Linked DNA regions of Homo sapiens: region 2 is linked to region 1. Evidence: promoter capture Hi-C in 16 types of primary human blood cells and fetal thymus (Javierre and others, 2016). All regions are on one chromosome and are shown on one strand. The core of a region is centred on a gene start or on the middle of the fragment in contact, and the rest is flanking DNA. Distances in the headings are between cores, read along the strand shown. Region 1 holds the start of ST13 (ST13 Hsp70 interacting protein). Region 2 holds the start of TOB2 (transducer of ERBB2, 2).

The links. The method cuts DNA at HindIII sites, captures the fragments that hold promoters and counts their contacts. A CHiCAGO score of 5 or more calls a contact.
Region 2: a contact is called between the fragment with the promoter of TOB2 here and the fragment with the promoter of ST13 in region 1, in 1 of 17 cell types (fetal thymus). The highest score is 7.6, in fetal thymus.

Annotation. Positions count from the first base shown.
Region 1 is chr22:40,854,562-40,858,947 of GRCh38, forward strand. ST13 (ST13 Hsp70 interacting protein) reads right to left here and starts at 2,078. Exons shown (of 12, transcript NM_003932.5): 1 at 1,870-2,078. The coding sequence starts at 1,979. It overlaps XPNPEP3 (X-prolyl aminopeptidase 3), which reads left to right and starts at 2,587. Exons shown (of 10, transcript NM_022098.4): 1 at 2,587-2,684. The coding sequence starts at 2,621. RefSeq lists enhancers at 1,806-2,575, 2,203-2,422, 2,433-2,892. The HindIII fragment of the contact is 3,469 bases long and covers 1-3,233 here.
Region 2 is chr22:41,444,420-41,448,707 of GRCh38, forward strand. TOB2 (transducer of ERBB2, 2) reads right to left here and starts at 2,382. Exons shown (of 2, transcript NM_016272.4): 1 at 1,960-2,382. It overlaps LOC105373043 (a long non-coding RNA gene), which reads left to right and starts at 2,526. Exons shown (of 2, transcript XR_938274.2): 1 at 2,526-3,613; 2 at 3,700-4,288. RefSeq lists enhancers at 1-46, 2,152-2,847, 2,594-2,843, 2,848-3,543 and a silencer at 3,414-3,513. The HindIII fragment of the contact is 7,856 bases long and covers 1,121-4,288 here.

The DNA.
Region 1 (4,386 bases), core at 828-3,327:
GCACAATCACTCCAGCACAAGTCAGGAGGACACTGTTCTTACACATGCTTTTAATTTGTTCTTCTGTGTCTCCTCTTCCTCACTAGTAAGAATGAAACAAAAACATTGTATCCACTTAATGTAAAGTGGAGCCAGCTCTTGGAGCCGGCTATTTTCTTCCTGTGATACTTGTCTACGTTACCTGGAATTTTAGAAAGAATTTATTAACTGCAGGTTCTTTCCTATAATTAGGATAAAAGCATACAAATATCTTAAGGCTTTTGGATCATCAAGCTGTTCAATAGAGAAAACGACTAAAACCTAGCCCTCAATTCCTAATCCTGACATTTCCCGGTTGAGGAGTTTGCAAAATAGACTTCTTACCAATATTCATAAAGTTACTATTAACATAGTAATATTAAATGGTCTCAGAATTTCACATATAAGTAAGTCTTCCAGTAGTTAGACAATTGGTGGGGAGCTAAAAATTGAAAAACTTCTTAGAGGAAAAAAATACAACATACAACGCTGACAGATTGTAACGAGTTTTTTCCTTAGAACCAGATTGTTGTTAAGAAATATTCTTTGAGCTATTTGGTAATCATGAGCTCATCTTCCCACACAAAAATATCACGCTGGGTGAAGTGGCTCACGCCTGTAATACCACCACTTTGGGAGGCGGGGGAGTCCCTTGAGGCCAGGAGTTCAAGACAAGCCTGGGCAACTTAATGGGACCCCCATCTCTACAAAAAAATTAAATTAGCCAAGTATGGTGGCTCGATCCCGCACTGCTAGCCACCTGGGAGACTGATGCAGGAGGATCGCTTGTGCCCAGGAATTGGAGGCTGCAGTGATCCCGCCACTGTATGCGGCCTGGACAATACAGCCAAACCCTGTCTCTAAAAGACAAAAGTCACTAAACACATAACGTTCACAGCAGCACCTCTTAGGAGTCGCAATGGTCTGCATAGTTGCTATTTATCCCTGTTTAGTGCAATTTGTATGTCATCTTTTCAGTTCCCCATTAGTAATAATTTTTTAAAAAGTCATCTTAGGGAAGACTTCCCTGTCACTTTTTCTCTTCGGTGCTCCTTCAACACATAAAATGCTAATTACTATTATATAGTAAATATCAAAACGAACTTTTCTATTTATTCGTCTAAATAGACAGTACTTATACTGTTTCCTAGCACCAGGCACAATGCCTTGTCAATTAACTCCTTGCACGTAGCGAAGTACTCTACAGTTAAAGACAACAAGATTATATCCTGGAAACATGCCAGGCCTTAAGAAATTATTTTTCTCAGACGTGTTTGGAGTGATAACACTGCCAAGTAACGGAGGTATAATAAGTGATTCTCAAGATAATTAATCCTACGCAGCTACAAACGCTGTAAGGTAAAAACAATCATTTTTACAGTTATCATTTTTATTCTTACTAGTTTTGTAACTTTTAACTTACTAGTGTTATATTATTATAACACGACGTAAAGGAATAGTGCGTAAAGGAACTGCTATGTACCAATGAGACCTGAGCAGGGCACACAAGACTGAAAGAAAAACAACCCCACGCAAAATCTAAGTCTTGCAGTTTTCACTCCTCGCGTCTCCAGTGTCCACGCATCCGCAGTCCTGTTTTTGTATTTCGCCCAAGATACACCCCTGGGCAACCTCAGGGTGCGAGGAACCCAGCTCTGCCTCCTGCTCCCCGCGGCTCCTGTACTACCCAAGGCTCGCGATCTTCCATGACCCCTCGAAGTTGCCTCCCTTTCCCGGGCAAAGAAGGGGCAGCGACCCCGCCTCGCCCGCCGGACCGAGCCAGGTCCAGCCTGGCTCCCCCCTGGGGCCGTGCTTCCCCCGCCCCCAACGGTCCTCAGGCCTGGGTCTCACCTCTCCACCCACTCCCTCAGGAAGCGCATTTCCTCGGTGTGCAGAACGCTCGGATCCTGCTTACACATTTTCACAAAGGCCCGAAGCTCGTTCACTTTGCGGGGGTCCATGGTAGGGAGGTGGTGGGCGAAACTGGGGGGGCTACGGCCCGGTTCCAGGCCCAGGCGCTGGCTCGGCGTGACCGCGCAGAAGGGGGCGGCTGCCGCAAGACAGAACAGACTAGAACCTCCCCGGCCGCTGGCTCCTCCCACCCAACGGTCTCGTGACCTCGGGTCCTCCGCCTGCTCATTCCTACTCCCTCTGCGCTGCTCCTGCGCGCTCCCTAGAATCTTCTAGAAGCGTGGCTGTTCGTGCTGTTGCCTGCCTCCCTGCGCATACATTCTCATATTCTTAACTAGGAACCAGCTCCCTGGATGGGGCAACCCCAGAAATGGGCGACTTCAAGGAGGCGGGAGATAACATCCCCTCCAGGGGGCGACGTCCAAGAGCATATTGTGTGGCTGCGTGCACTGAGTAGAGCTCAACGCCCGGGACCTAAAAAAAAAAAAAAAAAAGGGCGTGGAGCCGGAGGGTCGGTCCCAGCTCGGGGCATGACGTCACAACCTGCGCCGCCGCGCAAGGAAGGCCCGCGAGCCGCCTCCGCCGGAAGGGGAGGTGCGGCTGGCCCGGTTTCCTGGCGACGCGGCCCTGCAGGCGGTTGCGTTCCCCGTCGTTACCCTCTTTCTCTTCCCGACGCGTGAGTTAGGCCGTAATGCCTTGGCTGCTCTCAGCCCCCAAGCTGGTTCCCGCTGTAGCAAACGTCCGCGGCCTCTCAGGTTAGACTCTTCTCCCACGGTCTCCTCCCATGGTGTCCCCTGGAGGGACCCAAGTTGGTCTCAGGCGATCCCTGGTTCGGCTGACCCTTCTCCTGGTGGGGCCTCCGCTCCCCAACCCTCTGTGCTCCGCGGATTTCTTCTATACCGGCTGCTCCTGGAAAGGGGTGGGCCCAGTGTGTTCTCTACCGTTGAGGTATTTTGTGAAGCCGAAATGACTGCAGAGAGAAAAGTGTGCCATCCCCCAGAGGGGCTGTCTTCCAAGTTACTCGGACTCCGAAGTTGTGGCAATTATCACACTTAAGTGACAAAGTGTCTCACATCAAGTAGCTCTTGTTTCTGTTAGGCGTGAGAGCTTGCTCCAGAATATACACGAAGCATGTTTAGTAACAAATTCTTTCAGCAGCTCCTCTTAGGAGAGGTAACTGTTTCGAAATACTTCTGGGGCGTTCTGTGTCTGAAAGTCCTGTTTGCAAAGACAAGACGAAGGATAAGGAGAATAATTTTTTGTAGGGTGTCCTCTATTGCGAGCAATTAATCTGATGAACATAAAGCTTAATCAGTGAAAACTGAATCACCTTCCTTGCAGGCGGATCTGCCATTGGATCGTATTTCAGTTTTTTGGGTCAATATATGAACAATGTGTGAACCAGAACGTATGGTATTTGACATCAAAGCTATGTCTTGGCATATGTTTATGTTGATATACTTGAATTCATTTAAAATGGAATGTTAATTACATCGACTTCTTACTATAAAAAATAAAAAGTTATTGTCCAGTGCACAGAACTTGTTCTTCAGTTCTCATAGTAAAGCTGCAGAAAGACAACTCTCCGTGGGATTAGGTGAAAAGAAAGATGTGCAATTTTTCAGTCTTTTTTTGAGACAGGCTCTCATTCTGTTGCTCAGACTGGAGTGCAGTGGCAATCTCTGCTCATTTGCAACCTCTGCCTCCTGAGTTCAAGCAATTCTCGTGCCTCAGCCTCCCGAGGTAGCTGGGATTATAGGCGTGTGCCACCACGCCTGGCTAATTTTTGTAATTGTAGTAGAAACCAGGTTTTGCCACGTTGGCCAAGCTGATCTCGAACTCCTGGCCTCAAGCGATCCACCCTCCTCTCTGAGCCACCGCCCCAGGCCTGGAATTTGCTTTTATTTGAAAGGCTCTCCCCAGCCTGACTAAAGGAGCCATACTACCAGAAGGAACACTTGCAAAGGCACAGAACTCTAAAACGGAGTGGCCAGCACTAAGCGTTGCAATCGTTTAGTATGGCTGGAGAAGCTTTTTTTTTTTTTTTTTTTTTTTTGAGACAGAGTCTTGCTCTTGTCGCCCAGGCTGGAGTGCAGTGGCGCGATCTCTTGCCTTACTGCAACCTCCACCTCCCGAGTTCAAGCGATTCTCCTGTCTCAGCCTCCCGAGTAGCTGGGATTACAGGCGCCCGCCACCACGCCTGGCTAATTTATGTGTTTTTAGTAGAGATGGGGTTTCACCATCTTGGCCAGGCTGGTTTTGAACCCCTGACCTCGTGATCCACCCGCCTCGGCCTCCCAAAGTGCTGGGATTACAGGCGTGAGCCACCGCGCCCGGCTTAGGAAAAGATTTTTTGAAAGATGTTCTCAAACAAAATAGTAGGCATTACACGAAAATGATTCTGTGATCAAATACTTTTGGGGAATGCTGCCTTTCATAATGTACATAATAGTTTAA
Region 2 (4,288 bases), core at 1,132-3,631, 590 kb after region 1:
ACCCAAACGTAGGCGGAGAGGCGGGCGGTGAGGGCCCGCTCTGCACTCTGGGAATTGTAGTCCTCAAACACCTCCGGACCAGGCGATAGCAGGAGTGACCTACTTTCCCTGCACACTACACTTCCCTGAGCACTTTGCGAAGGCCCAACTGGCCGCAATACGCATGCCCGGTAAGGGGAGCCGACCGAGGGTCGAAGAGCCCAGGAAAAGTTTCCGATGCACATGCGCGCTGAGGCGGGTCGGCGCCCCCCTCCCATCGCCTAATACATTTCATGTAGATTCTACCCAAAAGGCCTACTCCCCGTATTGTATGGCCCCACCACATCCTCTAGGCTTTACGAGAGCCTAACTTTCCCACCTTTCCCTTCATCGCCTCCCATTACTGATGAAACTAGGATCTGCTTCTAATGAGTTTTTTCTGGGTGAAGGGGGTGGGCTGGCTTAGATAAGGTCACGACCCCCTTCCCCCCACCCAATCTGAATTCCAGGGCCTGGGCGGTCCGTGTGGGGTTGCTGGATGGACGGTGGATTCAAAGGGAAACGGATCTTTTTCACTTAATGCCTAGCGGACTCGGCTCCAGCACCCCAAACAGCCAGGAAAGGAAAGGCAGGAATCAAACCCAGTTCTCCCGTCCTCTCGGCCAAAGAAATTTCCAGTCAAGCTGTGGGGAGGCGCCAGGCCAAGGCCAGCAGGGCCCAAGCCTCACCCCATTTCTAATCGAAGACTGAGTAACCAGATCCGGGAGAGGGAAATAGGAAAAGGTTCCCAGGCAGAGAAGAAAAAAACTGTACACCTGACACCTGAGCATCTTCTCATACTAAAATTCTGTGTGTCTCCTCCCATTGCAAGGTCTGCTTTACGACCAGACTTACCAGATCCTCGGCAAGCTCCCCCGCTGGGTGTTAAACCTCCTTAATCCTTCCTCCCACACAAGCTTCTTTCCCCCTATGCTTCACGGAGGGATGGGGGTAGAAGCCCAAGAAAGCAATAGGATTGTTTTTCTGCCGGAAAATCAGAGATGAAGGACCCATTCCCAGGGTACGGTGGGTAAGAAGGAGAAAAAGACCGTTTAGATACGGAGTAGCACCAGAGACTGGCCTCCACCCGTCCCCAAGCTGAAGCTTGCTGTGCGGGGTTCTGGTTTCTCCTGGGGGAGGGAGAGGGCCTGCCGGCTGTGCCTCCTCTCTGCACCCTCCTTCCCCTCCCAGATTTCTGGTGGTCAAGGGCACAGTTCATCCTCCGGACAGGAGGGGAAGGAGTTTGGGGGTAGGGCCCCACCTCGCAGGCACCTTACCAAGATAAGCAGAATCCACTCACTGGCACTGCTCTAAGGGTACTTTTTTCTGCCCAATTTTCCATTAAAACACTTAAGAGTATAAAGAGCTCAGCCGAAACGGTGAACTCTGGCTCAGTGGCCCAAGGACAATCTCCACTGACCTGTCCCGTCGCCAAAGGGGGTGTCCACCCTCCACCCTTCAGGCTCCACAGAGCCAGAAATAGAGTCTATTAACAATTACCACCCCCCTTCCCTGCACACGGGAAAAGAAGCAGAAAAACAAGGCCTGGATCCCCTTCCTTCCTCGGATTTATTTAACGGTGGGGGGAGTTATGTTTCTTTGGAGAACAAGGAAGATCTAGCGAGTAGCTAGGATATAAAGAACCGGGGGAGGCGGGGAAGGGAGGAAATGCACCCCACCCAGGAGAGGGCCACTCTTGGAACTGGGAGAAAAAGGAGCTCTTGGGCACCCCAGGAGCACAGATGGCGTGAGAAGAGGAGCTGGGGAAAGTGGGGTCTGGAGGGAAGCTGGATGGGGAAAGAAAATGCTGGCCAGGCGGGGAGGGAGCGGCAGCAACGTGGAGAGTCCAGCAAAGCGGGAGTGGGGCGGGGTGGAAGAGGTAGTCCGGCCGGCTGGGTCTCGGGGCGGGCCCCCCGCCCGCACGCCCCCCAACTCACTCACTCGGGTCTCCGCGGCGGCGGGGCGCTCTACCGGCCGCGGGGCGGCTTCTCCCTCCAGGGTGGCCTGAGCGCGGGGCGGAGGTCGCTCTCCTTTCCTTCCCGGGCGTCGCCGGGCCAGGGGACCGAAGTCCTTTTCGTCGTTGAGGGTTGGGGGACGAAGCAGGGGGCTATGGACTATGACTCTCAATAATTTCTTTCAGCTCTTAGGAGGTCGGGCTCGGCAGCGGGGGGCCCGAGGGCGGGCGGGCGGACTAGCGGCGACGACGCGGGGATGGCGGATCGGAGGGTGGTTCGTGTCGCGCAACGGCAGACGGTATGGGCTGTCGCCGGCAGACGGTCCTGCCCTCCTGGCCCCGCGTCGCCCGAGCCACGGCTTGCCTCAGCCAACAACCCGCACCTTCCCGCGCCCCGGCCCGAAGTGAGCAAAGTCAATGAAAAGTTTCACCCTTAGCAACCCTGCGCACGGATCCGGCTTCCCCACCCCTGCGTGATGCGTCCCTCCGCCCTGCAGGGGCGGGGCCAGGGCCCGGCCGGGACTACTTCCCAGCCAGCCCCGCGCCTCAGCTCGCTGGTATCTCGCGGAGCAGCTCCTGTGCCCTTCTGTGCTCGCCGGTCGTGCGTCCGGCTCCCCGTCTTCCCCTCCCTGTCACAGCGCCGCGCCGCACTCCTTTCCTTCATTCCCATACCACTCTGAACTTGTGCGCGTCGTGTGAGGTGTTCTCCCAGGGGCGCTCCGTGAGGGCCGGGGACCACCTGGGGCCGGGTTGCTCACGAGCCGGGCACAGTGCACTCTCCCTTTAGTTGTGTTTGGGGGACGAGTATCGCGGGGGAGGGGAGGGAGTCACCATGCCCGCCGGAAACCCCCCGCTGAGTCGTCCGCCCTGCACCTGCCTCGGAGCCCATGGTTCGGACGTTTGCCCGAGCCGTTTCCCGGGGCCTTCCCTCCAGCTCCGAGCGTCTGGCCGTGTCCGCGGCGATAGCATCGCCCCGTTACGGCCTCTGCGGGAGGGGGAACTGAGGGGACGACGCGGGCTCTGGAAACATTTCGGACCCGTTTCGGGCAGGCATGAGTCTTCCGAGCGCCTTGTGATTCCTCGGGGGGCTCAACGTCGAAAGAAAGGCGAGGGAGACTCTGGGGCCTGGGCCACGCTGTGCGGGAGTAAGAGGAGCCGAGGACGAGGCTGACGGCCGTGAAACTAGCCGAGTGCCACAAAGGACCTTCCCCTCACCGCCTCTGGCGCTCCTTTCCTTGCAGCCTGGAGGGCCGGCTCTGGCTCTGCGCAGGCGCGCGGGCGCAGCCCCTCTCCCAACTCTTGTTTGCTCTTTCTGGCCAGCGACCCCAGTGTGGGGCACGCGGGAGAGCCCCACATTTCTTCTAGTCGCAGTCCCGCCGGCGTGGGGTGGCCCCTGACCGTGCAACGGGCGCAAGGCTCGCACCCACTACGGCCCCTCGGGCGGCGGAGCGAGGCTCCGCGAACCCGGGACTGGGCGCGCCAGGCCCGCGCGCTGAGGCCCCCTCCCCCGGCTCTGGCCACGCGGGCTGCTCTGCCTCTGTGAGTGTGCGGGACACAGAGCCAGGGGGAGGGAGGGCCGTGTTCTGCGGTCACAGGCAGACAGGAGTGCCGGAAGATGCAGTCTGGAGCCCCCGGGGGACTGTGAGTGAGGTCTTCTCCCCGGTCCCTCCTTAGATCTCCCATTTCCCAGTTCTCCCCTCCCGCCCACACCTTTTTTGTCATTCCAGACGGTTCCGGCCCAGCAGCAGCCGCCATCCCCACGTTGGGTGGCGAGATCCGAAAGTTTCCAGCTACGAACAGTTTGCTTTTTTTTTTTCCTTGATCGCTTTTTTTGGCAAGGGCGGAGAGCACCAGTAGCGTGGGGGGTTTAAATGCACTTTCCCTGAATGCAACAGAGAAATGCCGGGCTGGAGGGCAAACTCCACCGGGACAGGGAGGCGGGAGATAGCCTGAGCGCCCCCCCATCCCCCACACTCTGAGCGTCGCAACCCCGGGGGCACCTCCAGGGACTACTTGCCTTGTGCGTCAGCGAGTGACAGCGTCACACACACGCCCCCTCCCGCACATGCCCGCTGCACCCTCCCTTTCCCCCTCCCCTTCCCTTCTCTCTTTTCCCCTAGCTCTTCCCACCAGGCAGAGAGGCTCAGCCGACCCACACGCTCCCAGAGCACTGAAAGCTAAAAATATAGCCGGTGTGTTAGCAACAGCCTTCCCATTGGTCGGGGGAAAGGGAGAAGCGGTGTCTGATTGGGTTTAGGATCCAGCCGCTAAGACTGGGCCCTTGGGAGTGTGCGTTTGCGCCAGCGGGCACGGCAA